Linked DNA regions of Homo sapiens: region 1 is linked to region 2. The links are contacts of gene promoters, found by promoter capture Hi-C in human tissues and cell types (Jung and others, 2019). All regions are on one chromosome and are shown on one strand. The core of a region is centred on a gene start or on the middle of the fragment in contact, and the rest is flanking DNA. Distances in the headings are between cores, read along the strand shown. Region 1 has its middle 22 kb from the start of EFNA1. Region 2 holds the start of EFNA4 (ephrin A4).

Region 1 (5,933 bases), core at 3,328-5,827, 41 kb before region 2:
TGGCTTCTGGGCTGGGTATCATGGAACACAAGACTGAGCATGGAAGGAACACGATTCGTATGAATAATTCAAAGGCACCCAAAATGCTGCTTCGTTAAGTGGGAATGTTAAAGGGGGTGGCAATCTGTAAGTTTAGCTGTTGTGTTCAGCTTTTGAAAATGAGAAAGAAAGAAGAAAAAAAGAAAAGAAAAGAGAGAGGCCGGGTGCGGTGGCTCATGCCTGTAATCCCAGCACTTTGGGAGGCCGAGGCAGGTTGATCACCTAAGGTCAGGAGTTCGAGACCAGCCTGACCAACATGGTGAAACCCTGTCTCTACTAAAAATACAAAATTAGTTGGGTGTGGTTGTAGGTGCCTGTAATCCCAGCTACTTGGGAGGCTGAGTCAAGAGAATTGCTTGAACCTGGGAGGTAGAGGTTGCAGTGAGCCAAGGTTGCACCATTGCATTCCAGCCTGGGTGACAGAGCAAGACTCCATCAGAAAAAAAGAAGAAAGAGAGAAGGGAGGAAGGGAGGGAGGGAGGAAGGAAGGGAGGGAGGGAGGAAGGAAGGGAGGGAGGGAGGGAGGGAGGAAGGAAGGCAAGAAGGAAGGAAGGGGAGAGAAAGAAAGAGACCTTGTAGAACCTTAGTGTTAAATAGTGAGCCTGTATTGGAACAACACTGAGGCAGGTGCCTGCTGAGCTCTAACATGAAGGTGGGCATTCATGCCCTTTTGCTTTGCTTCCCTGTTGCCCCCAGGATGTGGTACATGGGAAGAAACAGGTGCTTAGGGACCAGGCAGACCTAGGGTTTAAATAGTAACCAGCAATGGTCTTGAGTCTCAGTTCCCTCGTCTGTAAAGTGAAAAGAATAATAAATACCTCACAGGGATTTGTGACACTTGTAAACTGCCCGGTACAGCACCTGGCAGATGTAAGTGCACAGGCATGTTAGCTCTCCCACTCAGCCTGGCAGACTCCCCTCCAACCTCTCCCCGCAGCCCATCTACGCCACCCTTTCTTTAGATTTAGGCTGGCTTCGCAAATGAAAATATGGGATACCCAGTTAAATTTGAATTGCCGATAAACAACGAATAGTTTTTTAGTATTAAGTATGTCCAATACAATATTTGGGAGATGTGCTAAGAAAAAATTCATTGTTTACCTGAAATTCAAATTCAACTGGGAGTTCTGTAGTTTATCTGGCAACACTATGCTAAGTTCCACGTCCTCCAGGAAGGACAGCTTGGTGATGGCTCCACCCTCTGAACTCCTGTAGCCTTTCGTGACTTTGACACTTTGCTGACACCCAGGAAGCAACACATTTTTACTTATTAGTAATAACAACTACGACTACTTGTCCAGCATCTACAATATACCAGACACGTGGGAGCTTTATACAACCTGTCACATTAACCCTCCAAGGCTGGAAGGAGCATCACCTTGGGAGCACTGGAGGGTCAGTGCCGCCCAGCTGGCACACAGTGGCATTGCGCTTCAGGCTCAAGCCTTCAGGACTGGACTCCAAAACCCACACTGCAGCTCCTGATGGGCAGTGAGTGAGACTCACCCAAAGGCCTCTGCCAGTGCCTGGCACACAGTGGCATCTGCTTGGGTTTATGGCTGTAGAGAGTGATGTTCCAAAGCAGCAACACCAGCATCAGAATTGATTTGGGGAATCTCGGGATTGTGATCTGTCCTAAACCGCATTATGGCAAATACATGGGTTTTCAGACAAGAATAGGAATGTTTCTAAACTTCCAGAAATTTCTAGAGGGCTCACTGTTTGCTTTTGTGTGTGGATAACTCCAGCATTGCTGCCTGAAGTATTGTGACACCAGCCCCTGAGCAAAGTTCTCCTTGATATGGCTTGTGACATGGTGTGATGTGTGATGTGGCATGCACGTGATGTTTGACACAGGGCAGGGGCTGGTTGGGACTGAAGACATCCATATTCCTGTAAGATTTTTTGGTTCAAGTTTGGGAATCAGCTGCGTGCAGCTGTAGTCCTCTTTGGAGGGGATGTTCAGCGTAATTAAGCAGCCCTTTCTGATACCTGATCCCCGTGGATGTGCTTCACCTGGACACAGAGGACCTGGGCATGAAGATCCCCCACTCCTGGGGTTGGGGGCAGGATAGGTTTATGGCCACCGAATGGAAATGCAGCTCCTTCTGTTGTTCAGACCTCACTTGTCATATTAATGTTACTTCCTTGCTTGGCTTCAAAGTTAGACAAATGCAGGATGGTCAAGCCCATTCAGTTCCCGGGAGAGAAAGAAGTGGCTGTGACAAGCAGGCCTGGGTGCAGCTAGTGATGCACCTGGGGTGGGCGTGGCCTTCCTCCCCGTTAGGCTGGCTGTCTCTTCCTCTCAGCCTTCTTTTGTCTCTTTTTATTCCCATTCTAATTTCTTTTTATTTTTACTTTAAAAAATTGTTTTTAGAGGCAAGGTCTCATTCTGTTGCCCAGGCTGGAGTGCAATGGCGTGATCTCGGCTCACTGCAACCTCCGCCTCCCAGGTTCAAGCAATTCTCCTTCTTCACCCTCCCGAGTAGCTAGGATTACAGGCGCATGCCACCATGCCCGCCTAATTTTTGTTTTGTTTTGTTTTGTTTTGCTTTTTGACACAAAGTTTCACTCTTGTTGCCCAGGCTGGAGTGCAATGGCACAATCTCAGCTCACTGCAACCTCTGCTTTCCAGGTTCATACAATTCTCCTTCCTCAGCCTCCCAAGTAGCTGGAATTACAGGTGCACACCACCACGCCCAGCTAATTTTTTTGTATTTTTAGTAGATACAGGGTTTCACCATGTTGGCCAGGGTGGTCTTGAACTCCTGACCTCAGGTGATCCACCCGCCTTGGCCTCCCAAAGTGCTGGGATTACAGGTGTGAGCCACCACACCCGGCCTAATTTTTGTATTTTTAGTAGAGACGGGGTTTCACCACATTGGCCAGGCTGGTCACAAACTCCTGACCTCAAGTGATCCCCCTGCCTTGGCCTCCCAAAGTGCTGGGATTACAGGCATGCCTGGCCTAGTCCTATTCTTCACACACAGTTGAGAGATCCTTTAATTTAATTTAATTTAAAGAGACAGGGTCTTGCTGTGTTGATGCTACAGTGCAGTGGCATAATCACAGCTCACTGTAACCTGGAACTCTTGGGCTCCAGTGATGCTCCCACCTCAGCCTCCCTAGAAGCTAGGACTACAGGTACGTACCACCACACCAGGCTAATTTTTTTTTTTTTTTGTAGAGAAAAGCTCTCACTATGTTACCAGACTGGTCTCAAACTCCTGGCCTCAAGCAGTCCTCCTAGCAGAATTACAAAGTGTTGAGCCATCACACCTGGCCTCAAGAGATCCTTTAAAGTGTGACTCTTATCTGTGCTCCCCTGGCCAAACCCTCCAGTGGCTCCCAGTCATGTTTACAGTGAAATTCAGATGCACACTGTGTTCTCCCAATCCCCTGGCGCCCGCCTCCACCATTTCTCAATCCATTTCCCTCCTTACACACCATTCTCCAGCCACACTGGGCTTCTTCATGCTCCTCGACCTCCCTGGCCATGCTCCAGCCTCAGGGAATTTGTACTTTGAAACAGAGGAAGCAAAACTCTCCTCCAATGTATAATTTGGCTCAATCAAATGTTCCCTCCAGTGAGAGTCTTTCCTGATGGCTACAGCATGCACAATGGAGCGCGCTCACACACACACACGCAGACAAACAGACATACACGCCTCTTACTCTATCCTCTTTTTTTTTCTTGGCTCACTGCAACCTCTGCCTCCCAGATTCAAGCGATTCTCCTGCCTCAGCCTCCTGAGTAGCTGGGACTACAGGCATGTGCCACCAAGCCCGGCTAATGTTTGCATTTTTAGTAGAGACGGGGGTTTCACCATATTCACCAGGCTGGTCTTGAACTCCTGACCTCAAGTGATCCACCTGCCTTGGTCTCCCAAAATGCTGGGATTACAGGTGTGAGCCGCCATGCCCGGCCCTATCCTATCTATCTATCTATCTATCTATCTATCTATCTATCTATCTATCTATCATCTATCTATCTATCTAATCTTTTCTATTTTGTTTCTCCCCAGCTGACTATAAGCTTCATAAGGCAGGGACTTTGTTCCATACTGTAGAGAACATATCCAGAAAAAGGTTCTGAGCACAAAGTAGGATCTTAAAAAACAGGAAGGGCATTGCTGATTCTCAGGAACACCAAACAGAGTGGCTTTGAGGAGCAGATACATAAAAATGGCAGCCTGTATGCTGCTCCCTTCCCCCTAACTGTTTCCTGAGAGCCAGGTTTACACTTCCAGGAATAAGATTAGAGGACTCTTCTGGAAAACTTCCAGAGAATGGTCCCAGGCCAAAGATCTACATTTAGAACAAATGAGAAGCCACTAGATGTCCTTTTATTCTTGCCTTCCACACTTACTCCCTTCTGCACCTACTATTGAACACCTGCTATGCGCTAGAAAACATTCTAGGTGCTGGGACTCTATCTGTAAACAAAACTGCTGTAGATCCTCACCTTGAGGAGCTTACATTCCGAAGAGTGTGCCTTCGAAACCCAGGTGTACACAGTCACCCAACAGCACTCTGTCCTGCTTCATGCAGAAATGTGAATGGAGAGCCACCAAGGGGAAAAACAGACCAAAGCACAGAGAAAAAGAAATCAAAGGGAACTAGGAATCATTCAGGGAGTAGAAGAAAACCTTTAAAATGGCAATTAGTATTTTTAGAGAGGTAAGAGATTATTCATAAAATGAGAACCAGGTTATATTAAAAAATAAAATAAGGCCAGGCTCAGTGGCTCATGCCTGTAATCCCAGCACTTTGGGAGGCAGAGATGGGTGGATTACTTGAGGCCTGGAGATCAAGACCAGCCTGGCCAACATAGTGTACTGCCTTCTCTACTAAAAATACAAAAATTAGCTGGGCATGGTGGCGCACGCCTGTAATCCCAGCCGCTCAGGAAGCTGAGGGAGGAGAATTAACTTGAGCCTGGGAGGTGGAGGTTGCAGTGAACCAAGATTGTGCCACTGCACTCCAGCCTGGGCCACAGAGTGAGACCCTGTCTCGAAAAAACTAAACTACTCGGAAATTAAATATAGGTAAGTAAAAACAATTAACCAAAGGAATGGCAAGTCTGAGGAAATCTCTGAGAAAGCAGAATAATTAGACAAAGAGTTGGGGAACAAAGGAGAAAAATAGAAAAATTAGAGAATCAGCCCAGGAGACTGAACATTCAACTATAAAAGAGAGGAGACGGGAGGAAATTATCCAAGAAATAATACAAAACGCTTTCTTCCTCCATTTCCTCCTTTCTTTTCCTCCCTTCCTCCCTCCTCCCTCCCTCCCTTTCTCTCTCTCTCTCTCCTCTCTCTCTCTCTCTCTTTCTTTTCTTAATAAGGAGTCTTGCTCTGTTGCCCAGGCGGGAGTGCAGTGGCATGATCTCAGCTCACTGCAACCTCTGCCTCCTGCGTTCAAGCAATTCTCCTGCTTTAGCCTCCCAAGTAGTTGGGACTACAGGCGCCTGCCATCACACCTGGCTAATTTTTGTATTTTCAGTAGAGATGAGGTTTTGCCATATTGGCCAGGCTGGTCTTGAACTCCTGACCTCAGGTGACCCACCTGCCTTGGCCTCCCAAAGTGCTGCCATTACAGGCGTGAGCCACTGCGCCTGGCCAAGAAACTTTCTAAGAACTGAAAATTTAGAATGAGTGATAAAGATTAGTATTCATACACAGGATCGGGAATCTGTTTTGACTTGGATTTCTCAATAGCAGCGCTAGAAACTGGGATAGCTGAATCAGTGACCTTGAACTTCTGAGGGAAAATGTTTTCCAACTTAGAATTCTACCCCCAGCTAATCTAACAATCAAGAATGAGGTTAGTGCCGGGCGCGGTGGCTCATGCCTGTAATCCTAGCACTTTTGGAGGCTAAGGTGAGTGGATCG
Region 2 (6,078 bases), core at 3,579-6,078:
GCTCACGCCTGTAATCCTAGCACTTTGTAAGGCTGAGGCGAGTGGATCACTTGAGGCCAGGAGTTTGAGACCAGCCTGGCCAACACGGTGAAACCCTGTCTCTACTAAAAAAAAAAAAAAAAAAAAAAAAAAAAAAAAAATCAGCTGGGTGGCACACACCTGTAGTCCTAGCTACTCGGAATACTGAGGCAGGAGAATTGCTTGCACCCAGGAGGGTGAGGTTGAAGTAAGCTGAGATCGCACCACTGTACTCCAGCCCTGGGCGACAGAGCGAGAGCGAGACTCTGTCTCAAAAAAAAAAAAAAAGTGTGCAGTGAGGCCACACAAGACATGGTGGCTCACGCCTGTAATTCCAGTGCTTTGGGAGGCAGGAGGATCTCTTGAGGTCAGGAGTTCAAGACCAGCCTGGGCAACACAGGCCAGGAGTTCAAGGCCAGCCTGAGATCCCATCTCTACAAAAAATAAAAAGTAATTTAGCCAGTTGTGAGTTGTGGTGGCACATGCCTGTAATCCCAGCTACTCGGGAAGCTAAGGCAGGAGAATCGCTTGAACCCAGGAGTTTGAGGCTGCAGAGAGGTATGATCGTGCCACTGCATTCCAGCCTGGGCAACACAGCAAGACCCTGTCTCTTAAAAAAGAAGTGGGGGAGCTGGGGGTGGTGGCTCATGCCTGTAATCTCAGCACTTTGGGAGGCTGAGGTGGGCAGATCACAAGGTCAGGAGATCGAGACCATCCTGGCTAACACGGTGAAACCCCATCTCTACTAAAAATACAAAAAATTAGCCGGGTGTGGTGGCGGGTGCCTGTAGTCCCAGCTACTCCGGAGGCTGAGGCAGGAGAATGGCGTGAACCAGAGAGGCGGAGCTTGCAGTGAGCTGAGATCGAGCCACTGCACTCCAGCCTGGGCAACAGAGCGAGACTCCGTCTAAAACCAAAACAAAACAAAACAGAAGTGGGGAGAGGATGGTGCAGTAGAAGCTCCCTCAAGGCTAAATGGGGAGAAGAGACCACAGCTTGAAGCTTCACCAGGACCCCTGGAGTCTGATCCTCCTAGATTCTTCTCACTCCTTCCCTCCTTCCCAAGGCCCCACATTAGCCAGTAGGGTCCATGCTCCCAACCCACTTACTCCTCTCCTTGCAGCAGACAGACACCTGGAGCCTCAAGCACTGGCCAGAACTCTCTGGAGTGGGCACCGCTGGGTAGTGGGAAAGTGGGAAAAAGTTAGCACAGGGAGTCACCCCTTTGTATGCCTCAGACTGTTTCAGACCCTCCCAGGTTTTCTTCTCTCCAGGTCCCTGGAAAGCGTTTCCTTACTTTGGGGCCACACCCATGTATCAGGCCCCATCCAGTCCTCTCATCTCCCTGGCCCCCTTTCCTAGCTCCTCCTACTTTCTCCTTTCTAGACATTTCCCTCCTCAGTCCTGAGTTCAGCCCATACCTCAACCCGATGTACATTAGAGACCCAGCCCCCTCCTCCTTCCAGGCCTCTCCTTCCCCCTCCCTACCCTTCTGGTACACAAGAGGTGTCCAGTGTGCCCTTGGCCACTCACAGATGTAGTAGTAAGTCTCTCCAGGTAAGAACTCAAAGCCGAGGGAGAAGGGTGTGAAGCGCTGAATCTTCTCTGAGAATTGAACATGGCCAAAGGGCAGGGAGCACACCCAGCGCTTGTAGGCCCGGGGGCCCTCTGCCTGGCAGGACTCATAGCCTGGCCAGTCCACCATGTACAAAGCAAACGTCTCGGGGCCCTCAGGGGGCCCTGGGCCTTCGTAGTGGGGGCAGACAATGTCTAGGTAATCGTTGAGGCCCAGCTCCACCACGGCGTCTCCTCGAAGCAACCTGCAGGCATAACGCAGGGGTGGGCTGAGGAGTGGAGGGCACCACGCCATGGCCATGGATGCCAGAGACACCCCTTCTCAGAGGCCCCTGCCAGCCTCTCCTCCACCCATGTGCGATGGAGCAGCTCAGGAAGGCCCGAGGTTCCCAGACTGACAACTCTTGAGAGACAAAGAGAGTGCAAGAAATGGATGAGATGATCGATTCACAGGTTCCGAGAGGCTAAGACCTGCAGTGCCCATAACCACACAGCTTAGATGTGAGAAGGAGGGTCACCACACCCTGTCCTACAGGCTGGAGCTGCCACACACCTCTCTAGCTCCAGTGCCCAACACTCAATGTGGTATAGCACCAGGCTTGATCAATGTCAGGTGGATGGATGCTGTGAAGAAGCTGGGCAGAGAGGCAGGAGGTACAGTTGCACACAGTGCAGCTGCAGACACAGAGGTGGAAACAGGGGTTGGGAAAGGTCTCCTCAAACAGATATAAAGTGAGGAACACTGTCCTTTAGACTGACTTCAACCCAAGGGTGAAAAGAATGTCACGGTAAAAAAAGAATGAGGGAGGCCAGGTGTGGTGGCTCACATCTGAATCCCAGCACTTTGGGAGGCCGAGGTGGGAGGATCGCTTGAGGCCAGGAGTTCAAGACCAGCCTGGGCAACATGGTGAGACTGTCTCTACCATAAATAAATAAATAGGCTGGGCGCGGTGGCTCACGCTTGTAATCCCAGCACTTTGGGAGGCTGAGGCGGGCGGATCATGAGGTCAGGAGATCAAGACCATCCTGGCTAACACGGTGAAACCCCGTCTCTACTAAGAATATAAAAAGAAAACTAGCCGGGCGTGGTGGCGGGCACCTGTAGTCCCAGCTACTTGGGAGGTTGAGGCAGGAGAATGGCGTGAACCCGGGAGGCGGAGCTTGCAGTGAGCCGAGATTGCGCCACTGCACTCCAGCCTGGGAGACAGAGCGAGACTCCATCTCAAAAAATAAATAAATAAATAAATAAATAAATAAATAAATAAATAAATAAAGGCCATGAGTGGTGGTGCACTCCTGTAGTCCCAGCTACTTGGGAGGCTGAGGCGGGAGGATCCTTAGAGTCCGCAAGTTCCTGTAGTGAGCTATTATGCCACCGCACTACAGCCTGGGTGACAGAGCAAGACCCTGTCTCTAAATTCTAAAAATTAAAAAAAAAAAAAAAAAAAGAATGAGGGAGTGGGTGCTAGGTGCCTCCCTTTTTTGGCCAGGAGGAGCAAGTGCCAGGCATGGGGGGAGTCCACATACTACCCAGTCTTCAGTCTTCTCAGGACTCCCTTCCCCACCTCTTGGGAGCTGCCTGGGGAAGCCAGCACAGGTGGGAAGGGCTGGAAGGGGCTGCTCCCCACAGTACTGAATGCTGCATGAACCACCCCCCATACCACAAACACAGCGAAGCATGACTTAGGAAAAGCCTCCAGTGGGTGGTCCAAGGACGACCTGTATCAGTTCTGATTAGAAATGAAGATTCCTGGGCTCAGCCAGCCCAGACTTACTAGAACGCAAGCTGAGCAAGGACAGGGCCTTGGTAAGTTTTGTTCTACTGCATCCCCCGTGCCTGGAAAAGTGCCCAGCACAGGACAGTGTTCAATAAATATTTGTGGATTGAATGAATGAGCCAGAAACCTTAAGATTGGGGGGTGAGAAACCTGAATTTTTAACAGGTCCTCCAAGTGATTCAGAAGCTTTGGTCTGTGACAGAGATAGAGAATTCAGAGTCCAAGGACAACAAAAGCTCTTATCACTTGTTATTGGTATTGTAATGACCTGTCTTTATGCAGGCTCTCCTGCCTGCGCCTGTTCTCCAGAGAGTCTGTGGAATCCCAGAGGGCAGGGTCTTGATCTTCTCATCTATATAGTTAATCCCCTGCAACCTAGCACAGGGCCGGGCACACACAGTATGTGTTTAATAAATAAATGTTAGTGAGTGAAGAAATGAATAGTCACAGATTGTCTCAAGTAGAAAATCAGAAAGAAAAACAGATAGGAAATAGGAGAGGCAGGGAGACTTGGGGAGGGGGATGGAAACAGTAAAATATACTAAGGTTCAAAGGCAGGCAGCTCAGGAGAGAGAAAGAAATAATAGTTTATATCTGTACAGCCTGAGCCTCTTTCACATACATGACCTCACTTACCCTGCCAGACTTCCCAGGGTACTAGGTATTATTAGCCCATTATACAGGTGAGATAAATGAGGTTAGGAAGGTCACGAGACTTGCCCAGAGGTGATTCGGCTAGAAGGGCAGGGCTGACACTGGAAAGAAACAGAAGGACCAATAAAGACAGAGATGAAAGCAGAGATAGCAAATGAGATCAGGAGACAGAGTGAGAGCCAGAGGTGAGACCCAGCGGGCAGGAGAGTAACCCACGCTCTTTCATAAGAGTAAAGCCCCCTCCCTCGCTCTCAAGTTCGTCAGCCACAGCTCCAGCCTGCGGGAGGCTGGGGATCGCCAGGAGAGCAGCGAGGGGGGCGGAGCCCGGAGTGCGGGCAAAGGCCCCCCCAGCTCCATGCTCCAAGACCCCCTAGACAACCCTTGGGGCTGGGGTCTTCTGCCTGCCCCCCAACACATGCGGGCTGTGGGGAGACCCAGGGCGCGCCTCGCCCCTCGCCCCTCCCCCCTCCCCCGCCGGCTCAAACAAAGGAGCCCCGGCGCGCGGCCAGGCTCAGGCGGCGCCGCGCAAAGAGCGGGTGGCGGGCGCGCGCAAAGCCCGGGAGCGCGCAGACTTGGCTGTGCGCTCGCCCGGTTCGGCCCGGCTACCTGGGGTTACTGGAGTTCCAGTAGACTACGTGGCGGAGGCTGGAGCCCCCGCGCAGAGGGGAGCCGAGGAACGCGGCCCAGAGGACAGTCCGCAGCAGGGGCAGCAGCCGCATCGCCCCCGAGGTCCGGTTTGGTCTGGCCTGGCAGGTCCCGGCCCGCTTCACAGTCGAGGAGAGAAAGGTACAAAGTGAAGAGGGAAGTTGCGGAAAGGGGAGTGGGGTACGGAGATTCACTGACCCCGCCCCTGAATAACTTTCCGCCAATGGGAGCGCGTCTCCTCCTCTCCACCCAGCGCCAACTCCAGTTAACCCTCTGTGCACCGCAGCGCGCGCCAGGTTCGCCAAAGCTTCCACTGAGGCTGCACCGCACTGCGAGGGGGCGGGAAGGAAGGACGTATTCCAACAGCAGTATTTTTAGGGAGGTCATCTCTTTCGTGTCTGCTTTAGTGCAGGGTAGACTGCCTTATTAGAAGTTTGGAAGATTTTAAATAAGGGTACATAACCTTTGCCCAGATAGGGGAAAGTGAGGCGCGGGCGAGGATCCATGAAGCCTGTCCAACCACCTTCATGCACTGCCCCGTTTTCTTTGCACATCTAGGGACAGTGCAAGCGGAAGGGACAACACAGCTCTGGGACCACCTTCCCTAAAGAGCCTTAGGTGGCGCGCTAGATGCTCACTTTAGGATTGGCGTCTGTCCCTTGCCGCTCCACACCTTCGTTCCGGGCTGGGGGCCCACGCGGCCCCAGTCCCTAAGACGAAGTAATGAGGTGGTTGCGGCCTGTACAAAGCACCTTTGTTCCCGATCCCTCAGGTGGCGGCGGCGGAGGGGGAGGAGGCAGGTGCGCGGCCTTGGGATCGTGGGAGCAGCCGCCGCCCCGCTCCGCCCTGGCTCCTGGGCTCTGGGAGCATCAGCCAGATCCACTTTTCCCAGCCAATGGTCAGAGTGGGGACGGCAGGTCCAACAGCTTGACAGATTGCGCCGAAAGCCACCCCAGTCTGGGCAGAGGGAAGCTGCGAGCATCCCGGGGACACACGCCGACCCTTTCTGGTACTCCCGCCCCACACAGCCCGCCCTCGTCTGAGGCGGCAGCGTCTTCTGGCGGCCAAACCTGGAACCGCAGCAGGAGCGACCCGGGTTCTAGAAGCAGACAAACTCTGGGGAACGCTCCCAAGATGTCACGTTTATTGCAACTGAGCAGAGACAGGCTGTGCGGACCTTCCTCAATCCCGTCCAACCCCCAGCCCCTCCCCAAGCCCCCGCTGCAACTACGCCGGCAGGTCCGCAGAGTGTTGCTTGACAGCGCGTGGCGGTGCCCGGAGTCTTAAGACACCGCCAGTCTCTGGCGCCTTCAGTCATGGTAGGGGACTCCAGAGGGCACGCCCGCCTCTTGAAGCCCTAAGTCCGGCTTGGAGGCAGCGGAACCTCCGGAGAGGTCAGAGGTAGAGC

Evidence for each region. Contacts are between HindIII fragments. The study calls those that stand out against the background at their distance.
Region 1: a fragment that was not itself captured here is called in contact with the fragment with the promoter of EFNA4 in region 2 in 1 of the 25 tissues and cell types used here (mesendoderm cells).

What each region holds. Positions count from the first base shown.
Region 1 is chr1:155,103,398-155,109,330 of GRCh38, reverse strand. No RefSeq gene overlaps it. Among named protein-coding and RNA genes, the nearest start is that of EFNA1, 22 kb to the left of the region's middle. RefSeq lists a silencer at 5,823-5,933. The HindIII fragment of the contact is 6,363 bases long and covers 1,396-5,933 here.
Region 2 is chr1:155,062,490-155,068,567 of GRCh38, reverse strand. EFNA4 (ephrin A4) reads right to left here and starts at 4,828. Exons shown (of 4, transcript NM_005227.3): 1 at 4,632-4,828; 2 at 1,552-1,838; 3 at 1,128-1,196. The coding sequence starts at 4,744. It overlaps ADAM15 (ADAM metallopeptidase domain 15), which reads right to left. Exons shown (of 23, transcript NM_207197.3): 23 at 5,793-6,078. The coding sequence ends at 6,066. EFNA4-EFNA3 (EFNA4-EFNA3 readthrough) reads right to left here and starts at 4,828. Exons shown (of 5, transcript NM_001407761.1): 1 at 4,632-4,828. The coding sequence starts at 4,744. It overlaps DCST1-AS1 (DCST1 antisense RNA 1), which reads left to right and starts at 4,577. Exons shown (of 4, transcript NR_040773.1): 1 at 4,577-4,811. It also overlaps ADAM15-EFNA4. RefSeq lists an enhancer at 3,376-3,877 and silencers at 4,368-4,517, 4,808-4,957, 5,338-5,427. The HindIII fragment of the contact is 5,150 bases long and covers 2,290-6,078 here.